Linked DNA regions of Homo sapiens: region 1 is linked to region 2. The links are contacts of gene promoters, found by promoter capture Hi-C in human tissues and cell types (Jung and others, 2019). All regions are on one chromosome and are shown on one strand. Each heading gives the region's core, a stretch centred on a gene start or on the middle of the fragment in contact. The rest is flanking DNA. Distances are from core to core; before and after follow the strand shown.

Evidence for each region. Contacts are between HindIII fragments. The study calls those that stand out against the background at their distance.
Region 1: a contact is called between a fragment that was not itself captured here and the fragment with the promoter of MLXIP in region 2, in 1 of the 25 tissues and cell types used here (spleen).

The regions. Positions count from the first base shown.
Region 1 is chr12:121,749,335-121,755,757 of GRCh38, reverse strand. It overlaps TMEM120B (transmembrane protein 120B), which reads right to left. Exons shown (of 12, transcript NM_001080825.2): 4 at 5,319-5,378; 5 at 3,535-3,630. Among named protein-coding and RNA genes, the nearest start is that of TMEM120B, 40 kb to the right of the region's middle. The HindIII fragment of the contact is 7,829 bases long and covers 1-5,534 here.
Region 2 is chr12:122,076,694-122,083,124 of GRCh38, reverse strand. It overlaps MLXIP (MLX interacting protein), which reads right to left and starts at 4,369. Exons shown (of 17, transcript NM_014938.6): 1 at 3,859-4,369. The coding sequence starts at 4,271. RefSeq lists enhancers at 93-142, 1,750-1,799, 1,870-1,919, 3,787-4,026, 6,094-6,143 and silencers at 4,087-4,536, 4,547-4,826. The HindIII fragment of the contact is 9,979 bases long and covers 2,399-6,431 here.

The DNA of each region.
Region 1 (6,423 bases), core at 371-2,870, 320 kb after region 2:
TCATTCCCTAGCAGTATTGAGCTCCAACTACCCACAGGATAATGCTTTCTTGCCTCACTTCCCATTCCACTACCAGTGTCTCCTGGGATCACCTCCTAAATAAACTACTGGCACTAAAATGCTTGTCTTGGGGGTCTCTTCTGGGCCAACCCACACTAAGACAGTACCACTTCCCATTTTACAGATCACACAGACGGCAAGCACTGGAGTGAGGTCCAAACCCAAGCCCACTCGAGCCAAAATTAACTCTGACTACCTCTTTCCTAGCCTGGTTCAAACCTGATAGAGGACAGTCCTAACCAGGCACAGCCTCTTGGCCTGAAGGCAGCAGAAGGAGGCTTCCAACTCTCCTGCTGCCTCACCAAAGCCTCCAAACGCCCAAGGAGTACTGGTGGAGTAGATGTCCTGGAGCCTGTGGAAAAGGTGAGGAGACAGACAGAGAGGCCCAGGGATCCACTTCAGGTCACAAAGCCCGTGAGTGGCAGAGCTGGACCCAGAACCCTAGAGGATGCTGGCCATGCCCAGCTGCAGGCTTAGTGGTACCAAGAAGGGCCTCCGGGTGGGGAGCCTAGCCAGGAAACCATCCCAAGAGGGGCAAGAGGAAGAAAAGAGAATCCTGCTCTGTGGACGCACTAGCTATGAAGCTGTGAGCCTTTTTCCCGTATGCCCAGTCTTAGCCCAAAACAACGGTGATGCTAACCGGTGCTAATATTTAAACAGGCACCAGTCTAACCAGTCTCCAGACACAGCTTCTCCTGCCCTCCAAGCTGCCCTGCCAAGTAGCTCCTGTCACGCTCACTGTATCTGTCAAGAAACTGAGGCTGGGAGAGGTTCGTCATTTGCCTAAGGTTAAACAGCAGGGCAGGCTTCCCGGGGGCACCGGCACAGAGATGAACGGCCCGTCCAATCCCCCTCCTCTGCCCCGTTTTTAGCCTATAGAAGGTGTACTGGGTTGAATAGCATCCTTCCAAAATTCACGTCCACTGGGACCTCAGAATGTGACCTTATTTGGAAACAGGGTCTTTGTAGATGGAATTAGTTCAAATGAGGTCATACTGTGTTAGGGTGGGCTCTAAATCCAGTGTCTAGTGTCCTTACACTAGGGAAGGAGGCCGTGTGGCGTGGTGACAGAGACAGAGGCGAGTGAAACACAGCTTTAAGCCAGGCAATACGGGCTTGCTGGCAATTCCCAGAAGCTGGAGAGGCGAGGAAGGGTCCTCCCTCCCCGAAGCCTGTGGAGCGGCATGGCCCTGCCACGCCCTGCTTTCAGACCGCCGGCTTCCAGAACTGTGGGAAAATGTGTCTGTCGTTTTAAGCCCCCAGTCTATGGTACTTAGTTACAGTGGCCCTAGGAGATGAACACAGAAGCAGGTAGGAGAAAAAGAGACGCCCAGGCCCTCGGGGAACCTTGGGCCTCAGGACAGCAAGGGTTTGCCTTCGGAGGGCCCTGGAGGTCCCTGTGCAAGGGACTGTGGCTGCACATTGACAACTTTTACCCTCTTTGAGGGAGGCACATGAGGAGTAGTACAGATGTGTGCAGCCTTTGCCCTCGTGGAAACAGGCCAGGCTCTGGGCAGCAGGCGAGCACGGGCCCAGGGCCTGAAAGAGCCTTTGTTTGGGCATTCAAGTGGCCAGACCAGCAGCCGGATGCCCAGCCAAGTGCCTGCCAGGCAATAAACGCTTGGCACATAGGCCAAATGCCCAAACCGTACTTGACCGCTTCCCCTGGGGACAGAGAACCCAGGGCCAGAGAAAGGAACAGCAGCCCAGGCAGGGCAGCAGCAGCCCACAGCCTCACGGCATGGCTGTGCTGCACTTGGACGGTACCAGCAGCTGGGGAGCACCCCCAGCAGCGCCTCCACGTGCCAGCCAGGGTGGAGCTTCCACACACGGTGCCAGCTCCCTGAATTGTCACAGCCCTGTGAGGCAGGGACTGCCGTCACCCTTGTTTTACAGATGGGGAGACTGAGGCTCCCAGAGGGAACCTGCCCATAGTAACAGCCAGTTGGTCTCAAAACCATTTTCTTTTCTCTTTTTCTCTTTTTTTTTTTAAATATAATTGGGATATAATTCACATACCATAAAACTTGTTCTTTTAAAGTATATAATTTAGTGATTTTTAGTATATTCAGAGTTGTACAACCATTACCTAACTCCAGAACATTCTTTTTTTTTTTGTTTGTTTTTGAGACAAGGTCTCGCTCTGTTGTCCAGGCTGGAGTGCAGTGGCACAATCTTGGCTCATTGCAACCTCTGCCTCCCAGGTTCAAGTGATTCTCCTGCCTCAACCTCTTGGGTAGCTGGGATTACAGGCACCCACCACCACGCCTGGCTAATTTTTGTATTTTCAGTAGAGACAGGGTTTGACCATGTTGCCCAGGCTGGGAGAACATTCTTATTACTCTAAAAAAAAACCTTGTACCCAGTAGCAGTCATGCCCTCCTTCCTGCCTCCCGCAGCCCCTGGCCACCACTCACCTACTCCCCGTCTCTATAGATTTGCCTGTTCTGGGCAGTTCTCAGCAATGGAATCCTACTGTGTATCTTTTTGTGACTGGTTCTTTAACTCAGCATCACATTTTCAAGGTTCATCCATGCTGCAGCCTGGCTCCGTACTGGTGACAGTACTTCATTTCTCTCTCCCTTTTGTTCAGACCAGGTCTCCCTCTGTCCCCAAGGCTAAAGTGCAGTGGTGTGATCATGGCTCACTGCAGCCTCAAACTCCTGGACTCAAACAGTCCTCCCATCTCAGCCTCCCAAAGTGCTGAGATTACAGGTGTGAGCCACTGCACCCAGCTAAATAATTTTATTTTTTATCTTTGTAGAGATGGGGGTCTTGCTGTGTTACCCAGGATAGGCTCAAACTCCTGACCTCGAGTAGTCCTCCTGCCTCCCAAAGTACTGTACTGGGATTACAGGTGTGAGCCACCACGCCCAACTTTTCATTTCTCTTCATAGCTGAATGATATGCCACTGTACAGATAGACCACAGTGAACTCCTTTTTTTTGGGGTGACAGAGCAAGACTCTGTCACCCAGGCTGGAGTGCAGCGATCTCAACTCACTGCAACCTCTGCCTCCTGGGTTCAAGCGATTCTCCTGTCTCACCCTTCCGAGTAGCTGGGACTAAAGACATACTCCACCATGCCTGGCTAATTTTTGCATTTTTAGTAGAGACAGGGTTTCACCATGTTGGCCAGGCTGGTCTTGAACTCCTGACCTCAAATGATCTGCCTGCCTCGGCCTCCCAAAGTACTGGGATTACAGGCGTGAGCCACCGCGCCAGGTAATGAACTCCTTCTTAACTAGTACAGTACAAGGCCTTTCCAGCAGCCGTTTAACAGATACTTGTTGGATGGAGGTGGGGCAGACAGGACTGGCATTTCCCATGAGAAATGGCCCCTCTCTCCCCTACACCTCATCATGCCAAACAACACAGAAGCAGGAGAGGCTCCGGGTCCCCTGGATCCCTCTCTCCCGGCCCCCACCTGACGTCTGCATGCCCAGGCCCAGGCACACACGGCCACACCCACTACCTGTAGTGAAGGACAAATCGACATGCCACGGCACCCAGGAGCAGGATGATGGTCAGGTAGAGCTTGAACTTCTCATATTCGTCCTTGTAGGCGAACCTGCCACGACAGACACGCCCAGGGGTGTGCCCCTTACCATGACTATTCCAGCACCTGGGCATGGCCCTCAGCCCCATCAGACCCTTGTCCTTCAGCCACTGCCATGGCCCATAAGGACCTTCCCATTCCACTAAAGGAAAGACCTGGCCTTGACGGGTTAGTGGTGACCAATGAGGGGAAGAGGGCCAAGTATGCAGAAGGCCCATGTCCCTGGACTCTGGTCTGGGGCTCTGGGCCCATGCTGGGGACAGGCAGGGGGCAGAGACAGGGCCTCTTCCCTCAACCAACTGCTGCTGCTGAAAGGCCAGGGTTTGCGGCTGTCTGGAAATGGGGTAGACTCAGAGTAGACTGGACTGCCCATCTCCCTATGTGTGTGATAGGGCGTGAAACAGAGCAGGGCCATTTCTTGTGCGAAATGGGAAGTCCTGTCCACCCAACATACTGACTTGGAGGAAGGGAGGGAGGGGAGGGAGGGGAGGGAGGGAAGGAAGGGAAGGAACCAAGGAACCAACCCTCTCCCAGGTGCTCTACCTACAGAGGAGGAGAGTGTCAGAAACTCCAAAAGCCAGCGCCTCACCTGTGACCAGGTTTTTATTTATGCAAAAATTCTAGCTTAGATGCAACTTCCCTGAGCTGAAGGAACAGAATGCCGGAGGCCTCTGAGCCAGGTGAAAAGCGTGAGACGGGGTGTGGGTTGGGGTGTAGGATAGGGTGTGGGGTGAGAGTGGGGTGGGATGTGAATATGGGGTGTGGGGTGGGGTGTGGGTGTGGGGTGGGGTGTGGGTGTGGGGTGTGTGGTGTGGGTGTGGGGTATGGGGTGTGGGTGTGGGGTGTGGGTATAGGTGTCGGTGTGGGGTGTGGGGTGTTGGGTATTAGGTGTGGGGTGTGAATGGGGGTGTGGGGTGTTGGGTGTGGGGTGTGAGTATAGGTGTGGGTGTGGGGTATGGGGTGTTAGGTGTGGGGTGTGGGTTTGGGGTATAGGTATGGGTGTAAGGTGTGGGGTGTGGGTTTGGGTTTGGGGTGTGGGTGTGGGGTGTAGGTGTGGGGTGTGAGTGTGGAGTGTGATATGGGTGTAGAGAGTGGGTGTCAGTTTGGGGTGTGGGTGTTGGGTGTGGGGTGTGAATATGGGGTGTGGGGTGTGGGGTGTGGGTGTGGGGTGTGTGGTGTGGGTGTGGGGTGTTAGTGTGGGGTGTGGGGTGAGGTGTGGGTGTGGGGTGTGGGGTGTGGGTGTGGGATGTGGGGTGTGGTGTGTGGTGTGGGTGTGGGGTGTGGGTATGGGGTGTGGAGTGTGGTGTGTGGTGTTGGTGTGGGGTGTTGTGTATGGGGTGTGGGGTGTAGGTGTGGCTGTAAGGTGTGGAGTGTGAGTGTGGAGTGTGGGGTGTGAGTATGGGGTGTGGGTGTAGGGTGTGGGTGGGGTGTTGGCATGGGGTGTGGGTTTTGAGTGTGTGGTGTGGGGTGTGGGTGTGGGTGTGGGTGTGGGTTCGCAGTGTGGGGTGTGGGTGTGGTGTTGGTGTTGGTGTTGGTGTGGGTGGGGTGTTGGTGTGGAGTGTGGGTGTGGGTTTGAGGTGTGGGGTGTTGGTGTGGGTGTGGATGTGGGGTGTGGGTTCTCAGTGTGGGGTTTGGGGTGTGGGTGTGGGTGTGGGGGCGGTGTGAGGTGTGGGTCTGGGTGGTGGGTGGGGGACACTTACTTGGCCTGGTTGCTGAGGAGGGTCACGTTCACATTGCCGAGGACCAGGTTCAAGTAGAGCCTGGAAGGAAACACCTGTGAGGGGCATGATCCTTAGCAGGTGGGTGCGAATCAACAACATTCAAACTCAACACACTTAATGAGCACATCCCAAGCACTGATGTTAGAAGATAGGGGGCCTAAGCTCAGCGGGCAAATGGGCCCCCACATCGAGTGAGAATGACAACTAACCAAAGGACATTAACCTGTGACAGGACAGTGTGAGGAGTCGATTTCTCCTCCATGCTACCCTAGAGACCGTATTTCTAAGCCTGCCTTGCAGCCAGATGTGAGCAGGTGACTAAGCATAGCCAATGAGGTGGAGGCAAAGGTACAACCTCTAGGTCAATTTTTAAAGAATTTTCTTTATTTTTCATTATTATTATTATTATCATTGTTATTATTTTTAGAGACAGGGTCTCACTCTGTTGCCCAGGCTAGAGTGCAATGGTATGATCATAGCTCACTGCAGTGTTTTTTGTTTTTTTTTTTTTTTGAGACAGAGTCTCGGTCTGTCACCCAGACTGGACTGCAGTGGCACGATCAGGACTCGCTATAACCTCCACCTCCTGGGTTCAAGCAATTCTGCTGCCTCAGCCTCCCAAGTAGCTGGGATTACAGGCACGTGCCACCAGGCCAGCTAATTTTTGTATTTTTAGTAGGTTTAGGGGTTTCACCATGTTGGCCAGGCTGGTCTTGAACTCCTAACCTTAAGTGATCCACCTGCCTCCGTCTCCCAAAGTGCTGGGATTACAGGCATGAGCCACTGTGCCCAGCGTCACTGCAGTCTTGAACCTCTAGGCTCAAGTAGTCCTCCCACCTCAGTCGCCAAAGTAGCTGGGATTATGGGTACACACCAGCACACCAATTTTGTTAAAGTTTTGTAGAGATGTGGTCTCACAATGTTGTCCAGGCTGGTCTTGAATTCCTGGGCTCAAGTGATCCTCCCACCTCGGCCTCCCGAAGTGCTGGGATGACAGGCACAAGCCACCGCGCCCGGCCTTGAGTTGGGTTTTCTATCGTTTGCAATCCAAAGATTCCCAACTGAGGTTAAGAGGCACAGAGGC
Region 2 (6,431 bases), core at 3,120-5,619:
GTGGGGGCTGGGCACAATAGCTCACTCCTAGAATCTCATCATTTTGGAAGGCTGAGGTGGAAGGACTGCTTAAGGCCAGGAGTTCAAGACCATCCTGAGAAGCATAGCAACACCCCATATCTACAAAAAATAAAAAATTAGCCAGGCATAGTAGTGCGTGCCCGCAGTCCCAGCTACTCAAGAGGCTGAGACAAGAGGACTGCTTGAGCCTGGGAGGTCAAGGCTGCAGTGAGCTGTGATCACATCACTATCCTCCAGACTGGGAAACAGAGCGAGATCCTATCTCAAAAAAAGGAAATTCTGTGTGAAGGATATACATGTGTGACATTCCTTACAGTGTCAAGAGGGCAAGAACCATGAACTATGTTCTACAGTACATAGCTCCATTGTAGAGCCTCAGAAAGCACCCGGCCAAATCAAGAATGCTTCTATTTAGTATTTGTCAAGCAGGCATTTGAAAGCTCAGCTAAGACCCTGGTTAGATACACTATTTCCTTCAGTTCATAGATAAGACACGGGCTCCTCATAAATGTCAGATGAATGCAGATGCAGAACTAAAATTCTGCCATAACCCACTTGCTATGCGGAGCCCGTTAAACCCTCCTCTTGTGTGTTACTTGCCAGGCACTAGCCCCATTCCCAGCTCCATTCCCAGAGGTTATCTCTGCTGATCCTCACTTCCACCTTGCAGGGAAATTTTATCTTTCCCATTGAATAGCATTCTTAGACTTCAGATAAGTCTAAGGAAAAATAAGGATTTTTTCCATCATTAACACCTGGTTTGCCTCGGGGAAAGGCAACCCCTTCTCTCCAAAATGTCCCAATAATTGAGCACATGTTTCTGGACCAAATCAAGACCCTTCGCCACAGGGCTTCTCAGCAAAACTGAGTGAGAAGGACAAGGAATCCCATCTGCACGGTTCCCTACCCAGCAGGCCCTGGGCACACTCATATCCAAGTCCTCAAACACCCTGTTCCACACCCAAAGTCAGCCCCGGGCAAAGACCCTTCAGGAGGTGAAGCCCTGCCAGTTCAGGAATGGATCACAGTCAGAATCCCTAGGCCACTTCTCAGGACTCGGTAAAAAATAACCACAACTTCCCCTGCACTTAGTTCCTCCCCAGAGAGCTGTTGAACCTCATCTGGAAACAGCTGGGAGGCAGCAGCTAACAGGAAATCAAACAACAACAACAAAAAGCAGAGTGTACCACGGAGAGTTAGACAGCTAGAACGAAGAGGCCAGAGGACAGACAGGAAGTTGAAGTTAGAAAGAACCTAGGCCAGAAACAGTCACACAGAAGAGGAGACCCAGCTGGCCTTTCTCAGCTCGGGCAGGAGGGGAGGACCCAGACAGCCGGCAGGGAAGGCATGAACCCCACCAGGATGGAAGCCAGACAGGCTCTGAGGTTAAGTCTTCTTTCTGCCCTGCCCCCAATCCCTTTTTTTCTTTCTTTCTTTTTCTTTTTTAGAGATGGGGATCTTGCTACATTGCCCAGGCTGATCTTGAACTCCTGGGCTCAAGCAATCCCCCACCTCGGCCTCCCAAAGTGCTGGGACTACAGGCATGAGCCACCACGCCCCGCGTTGCCTCCGATCTCAACCTTCCTTCCCTGAAAGCCAGGTAGCAGTTCTCACTAGGAGAGCTGGGGTCAGAAACTCACCTTCCTCTAGTTTCTTTCTGTGCCACAGACTACAGCCCAGACAACTGGTTTTGAGTCATTTGTCTGTCATCCATACCAAAGTTCTACACTGCCAACTAAACTCAGCACTGGACAAACCAGCCTCACACAGACAGACAAAGGGCATCTTCATGAGAAATGACTGGACAGATCCCATCCGAGGGCCTGTGGTGGTAGACCTTAGGTGGCCGACCTTAGGCAGCAGGAGACCTTAGGCACAGGGAAAAGCAGCGAAAGTGAGAGAGCCAAGAGAGCAAGATAAGCTTCTTGCACCAAACTGATGGTGCATTTTGCAATCAAGAAAGTTAACTGAGCAACGGCCAGCTGCCAAAATATTTTTGAGAGAAATGAAAAAAAAAATGCCATTACTAAAATTATTTGGTGTTGTTTAATAAGCCTTTAGGTTATCCAAACAAGAGTGCAAAGGGGAGACTGATTTAGTTTTCATTTAGCAGAGCTTACTTAGGTGAGACCTTTCCAGTCCATGCCCCCCGTGACTCATCCATTCTCTCCCTGTATATGTAGAAGTTTATATTAAAATAAAGAAGAGGATTAAGTTTTCTTAATAAGATACATTCCAGTCTTTCACCTCGAGCTTTGTTTGAAAAGGCTCTCTCGAGGCATAGCATATGCTGCGATCCAGTCGGGTTTGATTCCAATGGAACTGCTCAAAATCAGAGACTGGAGGGCGCACAGGGCTGCAGCCTCAACACCATTTGTTTTTTAAAAAGCAGAACATCTTTACAGGCTCAGTGCCAGCTCAAACTGGCAAGACCAGAGAATCAGCAGAGACTGACCAATGTGCCGGGTAAGGGGGATGGGAGGAGGAGCTACGGGAACAGATCATCAGGGAAACCTTCAAGAGAGGAAATAGGGGTGTTTCAGGAACATAACAAAGAACAAGTTGACTAATCGTTTATTCCAGGGACCGCGGCGGTGAGGGGGGTGCCATCCAGGGCTAAGTATCTAATATTTTAACTTCAGGTAAAAGCATAACATTTAAACCTGGATATGCTTGGGGCTCACAGCTCTCTTAAAAAGGTGAGGTGAGAGGGGGCAAGATATTCCTGCTCTTTTATTACGCTGTTTATGGAGTCTCCTAGGAAACTTCTCCCGCGATGCCTCCAGAGCAGACCTAAGACAGCCCCCGCTAGTCCAGTTCCTAATGCAATAAGCTTAACTCAGCAGAGATCCCATCATGAGCTTTCTGCAGGGCCAAGCTGCTCAAGGCCGCTGCTGCCAGTCCAAAGAAGTTCTGTTGCGCAGACAAAAAAGTTACCTGCAGCAAATACCTAATATTCATAGTGGGAAAGGGAGAGAGAGTGAAAAAGCGCTTTAATCTTTGAGGGCCAGGCATTTTCTGTGACTTGGAAAAGAGGAATCTCTGCCCAGAGCCGAATCCACATGTCAGAACGGTGTCTGGGATGTCTGCCCTCAACAATGACATCTCCCTCATATAATGTTTCAGGACCGGCCAGAAAACCCTCCAACTTGCCAGAAGGACAGACTGCACCTCCAACAGCTGTGGCACCAAAAGTCTTCTTAGGAGGCACCCAAAGCCCTCCCGAGATGGGGGCGGGCCTCCCGATGAGGTTGTAAGGGGGCCAGCCTCCAGGTGCAGGGACACCTAACTCTGGCCAAGCACTGGAATAAGCAATTTACCTATCTCACTCCATCCCCACAACAGCCCCTTGGAGGCAGACACTACAGTCATTCCCCTTTTATAAAGGAGGAAACAGGCTCCGAGGTGTTACACAACCATTAAACAGCAGAGCCAGCCTCCAGTCACCCCGAACAGGTGGTCCTGACCGCTGCTGGATATGGGGGAAACACACAAAGCGTTTGGAGGAAGGAGTCGATAGAGTCGGGTAACACAAGATGCAGCCAGTGTTTATACCTCTTCCTCGTCCAACATCGGTGGTCCCAGGACACTGGAGGGGAGGGCCTGGATGGGGAACGTGAACCCGAAAGGACCCCGGCACTGCTGGCAGGGGAAGAGGCCAGGACCCCGGCTCCTCTGGCAACGCGGGGAACCCCAGATCCATAAACCCTCCCGAAGGAGGAAGACCCAAAGGGAATGCATGAAGCCACGGGGTTGCCAGGCGGCCCTTCCCTCCACGCTTGTTTTGTCAAACAAGGGCCTCCGGCCGGGGCCTCAGGGGGTCGCGGGGGTCCCTACCTGTAGGCCAAAGTCATGCACTCGAAGAGCTTGGTGAGCGAGGCGTCGATGGACAGGTGGCAGGAGCTAGTCTTGCCGAAGCTGTAGGTCTGGCACGTCTGTTTGTTGACCGTGTCGAAATCGTAGCCCTTCTTGGGCGGGTGCTCTCGGTGCGGCGACGACACCATGAAGTGGCCGCTGTGGATGATCTGCTGGCGGCGCGGAGGTTCCTCGCGGCCCGGCCCGGCCCGAGGCGGCGGTGGCGCGGCGCTCGCGTGGGCCCGGGCCGGGGTGGCCGCGCCGGAGGCGGGCGGCGGGGACGGCTCATCCGTGTCCGAGTCGTCGTCGTCCTCGGACACCTGGGGCTTGAGCAGCACCTGGCGGCCCCGGCTGCGAGGCCGGCGCGGGGAGCACATGAAGACGTCGGCGGCCATGAGAAGGGCTCGGCCGGGGGCATCCCCCGGAGCCCGGGGCAACGCGACAAGCGCGCGAGGCAGAGGGGCGCCGGCCCGGCCCGGCCCGCGCGCCGACTGTCCGCGAGCGCGCGGCGCGGCGGGAGGGGGAGGGCTCCGGCCCCGGCGTGACGTCACCGAGGCGTCTGGGCCAATCGGCTGCCCGCGTCGGCCTCTTAAAGGCGCAGGGGAACCTTTCCTTAGCTAGGCGGACCAAAAAAAAAAAAAAAGGGGAAGCGGAGGCCACGCCTCCCGGCCGTGCCCCTCGCCACCTCCTCCTCTCCCGGCGTCCGTGGGTGCTGAGGGACACGGTGGCCGGGCGGAGCGGCTCGCCGGTGTCGCGACCTGGGAGAGGCGTCGGCAGAGTGGGGCCGTGCTAGTCCCGCCCCCGCCCCGCTCCGCGCCCCGGGAGTCGCCCTGTGGCTTCGCCGCAGGCCCGGCCGGCTCCACGTGGTGGGTGCGGGTGGGGCTCCTCGGCCTCCAGGCCCTGCTTTTTCCCTGCCGGGCGGTACCGAGTCCTCGCAGCTCACGCCTGAGTTTGCCGGACGTGGTGGCTATTGTCCTCATTATTCTCATCGTATTGATGGGAACACTGGGTGGCTGAATACCGACAGGATTTTTCTCAGACCTGGAGTCCACAGAGCTGGGAACTTGCTTCCCCTGCGCGTCCCCAGCTCGGCGCAGCTGTTGAGTGGCAGCGCCCCTGAGCCCAGCGACCTCCAGACCCCAGCTCTTTTAACTTCAACTCAGCATGCTGTTGTTATTTTTTTAAAGTTTGACGGACGAGCCAGCCCCCGAAACAATTCTAAAAGGGGAGTATCTGAGCCAGAGTTTTCTTCTCTGTCAAATGGTGAACAATTCCGTTTCCTCAGAAACTTGGGACAGTTTAAAAATGGCTATAGTGGGGCGCGGTGGCTCATGCCTGTAATCCTAGCACTTTTGGAGGCCGAGGCGGGTGGATCACTTGAGGCCAGAAGTTCAAGACCAGCCAGGCCAACACGGTGAAACCCTGTCTCTACTAAAAATAACAAAAATTAGCCGGTCGTAGTGGTGCACCCCTGTAATCCCAGCTACTCGGGAGGCTGAGGCAGGAGAATCGCTTGAATCCGGGAGGTGGAGGTTGCAGTGAGCCGAGATTGCGCCATTGCACTCTAGCCTGGGCGACAGAGCGAGGCCCTGTCTCAAAAAGAAAAATAAATACAAATAAAAATGGCTATAAGTTGCTTAGCAGGCAGGCTGGCACAAAATGAGCGCTAAATAAATGTGCCACAGGTTGGAGGATTTGGATCAACCAGACCAGAGGTGCCTAGAAATTGCCAATAGTCCACCACTATTTGACCTGCAGAAACGGCAACTTCGCGTGGCACAACCTAACTGACAGACACCTCTAGAAAGCTGTCAAGGTTTCCGGGGCTCAAAGCCAGTCTGGGGTGGGGGTGGCAGGGCATCAGAAGAGCCAGTGAGGCCCATGAGCCAGGAACACCCATCCTAATCCTAGCAGGGCGTCCAGAGTCCACAGCCACTCCTGCACTCTGCTTTGTTTTATTGTTGTTTTGTTTTTTGAGACAGAGTCTTGCTCTGTCACCCAAGGCTGTAGCGCAGTGGTGCAATCACCATGTTGGCCAGGCCGGTCTGGAACTCCTGACCTCAAGTGAGGCCTGCCTTGGACTCCCAAAGTGCTGGGATGACAGGCATGAGCCACCGCGCTGGCTCTGCACTCGGCTTTGAAGCTGGTTTCAGTTCCAGATTTGAGTGGGGGGTGAGTCCCCTGCCCCACCCTCTTCCTGACAAAGGCCTCCTGAAGGGAACAGAGGGCTCTCACCAAAATGGCTCCATTAACTTATTTCCAAATGTCTGTATGGAAAAATGGGCTGGATGACTGGCAGTTTTCAGGCATGAGTTCTAGATTTCCCTCTTCAACCTACTACTGTTCCCAATGCTGGTTACAAGTGTTTAAAAGTCCATCCTTTGAGTTGCCTTCCTTTCTCTCAAGACTTGTCTCCTTGGTCCTTGGTAAGTTTACATGCCCAGCCACTTTTTTTTTTTTTTTTTTTTGAGACAGGATCTGGCTCTTTCACCTGGACTGGAGTGGAGTGGTGCCATCATGGCTCACAGCACCCTCAACCTCCAGGGCTCAGGTGA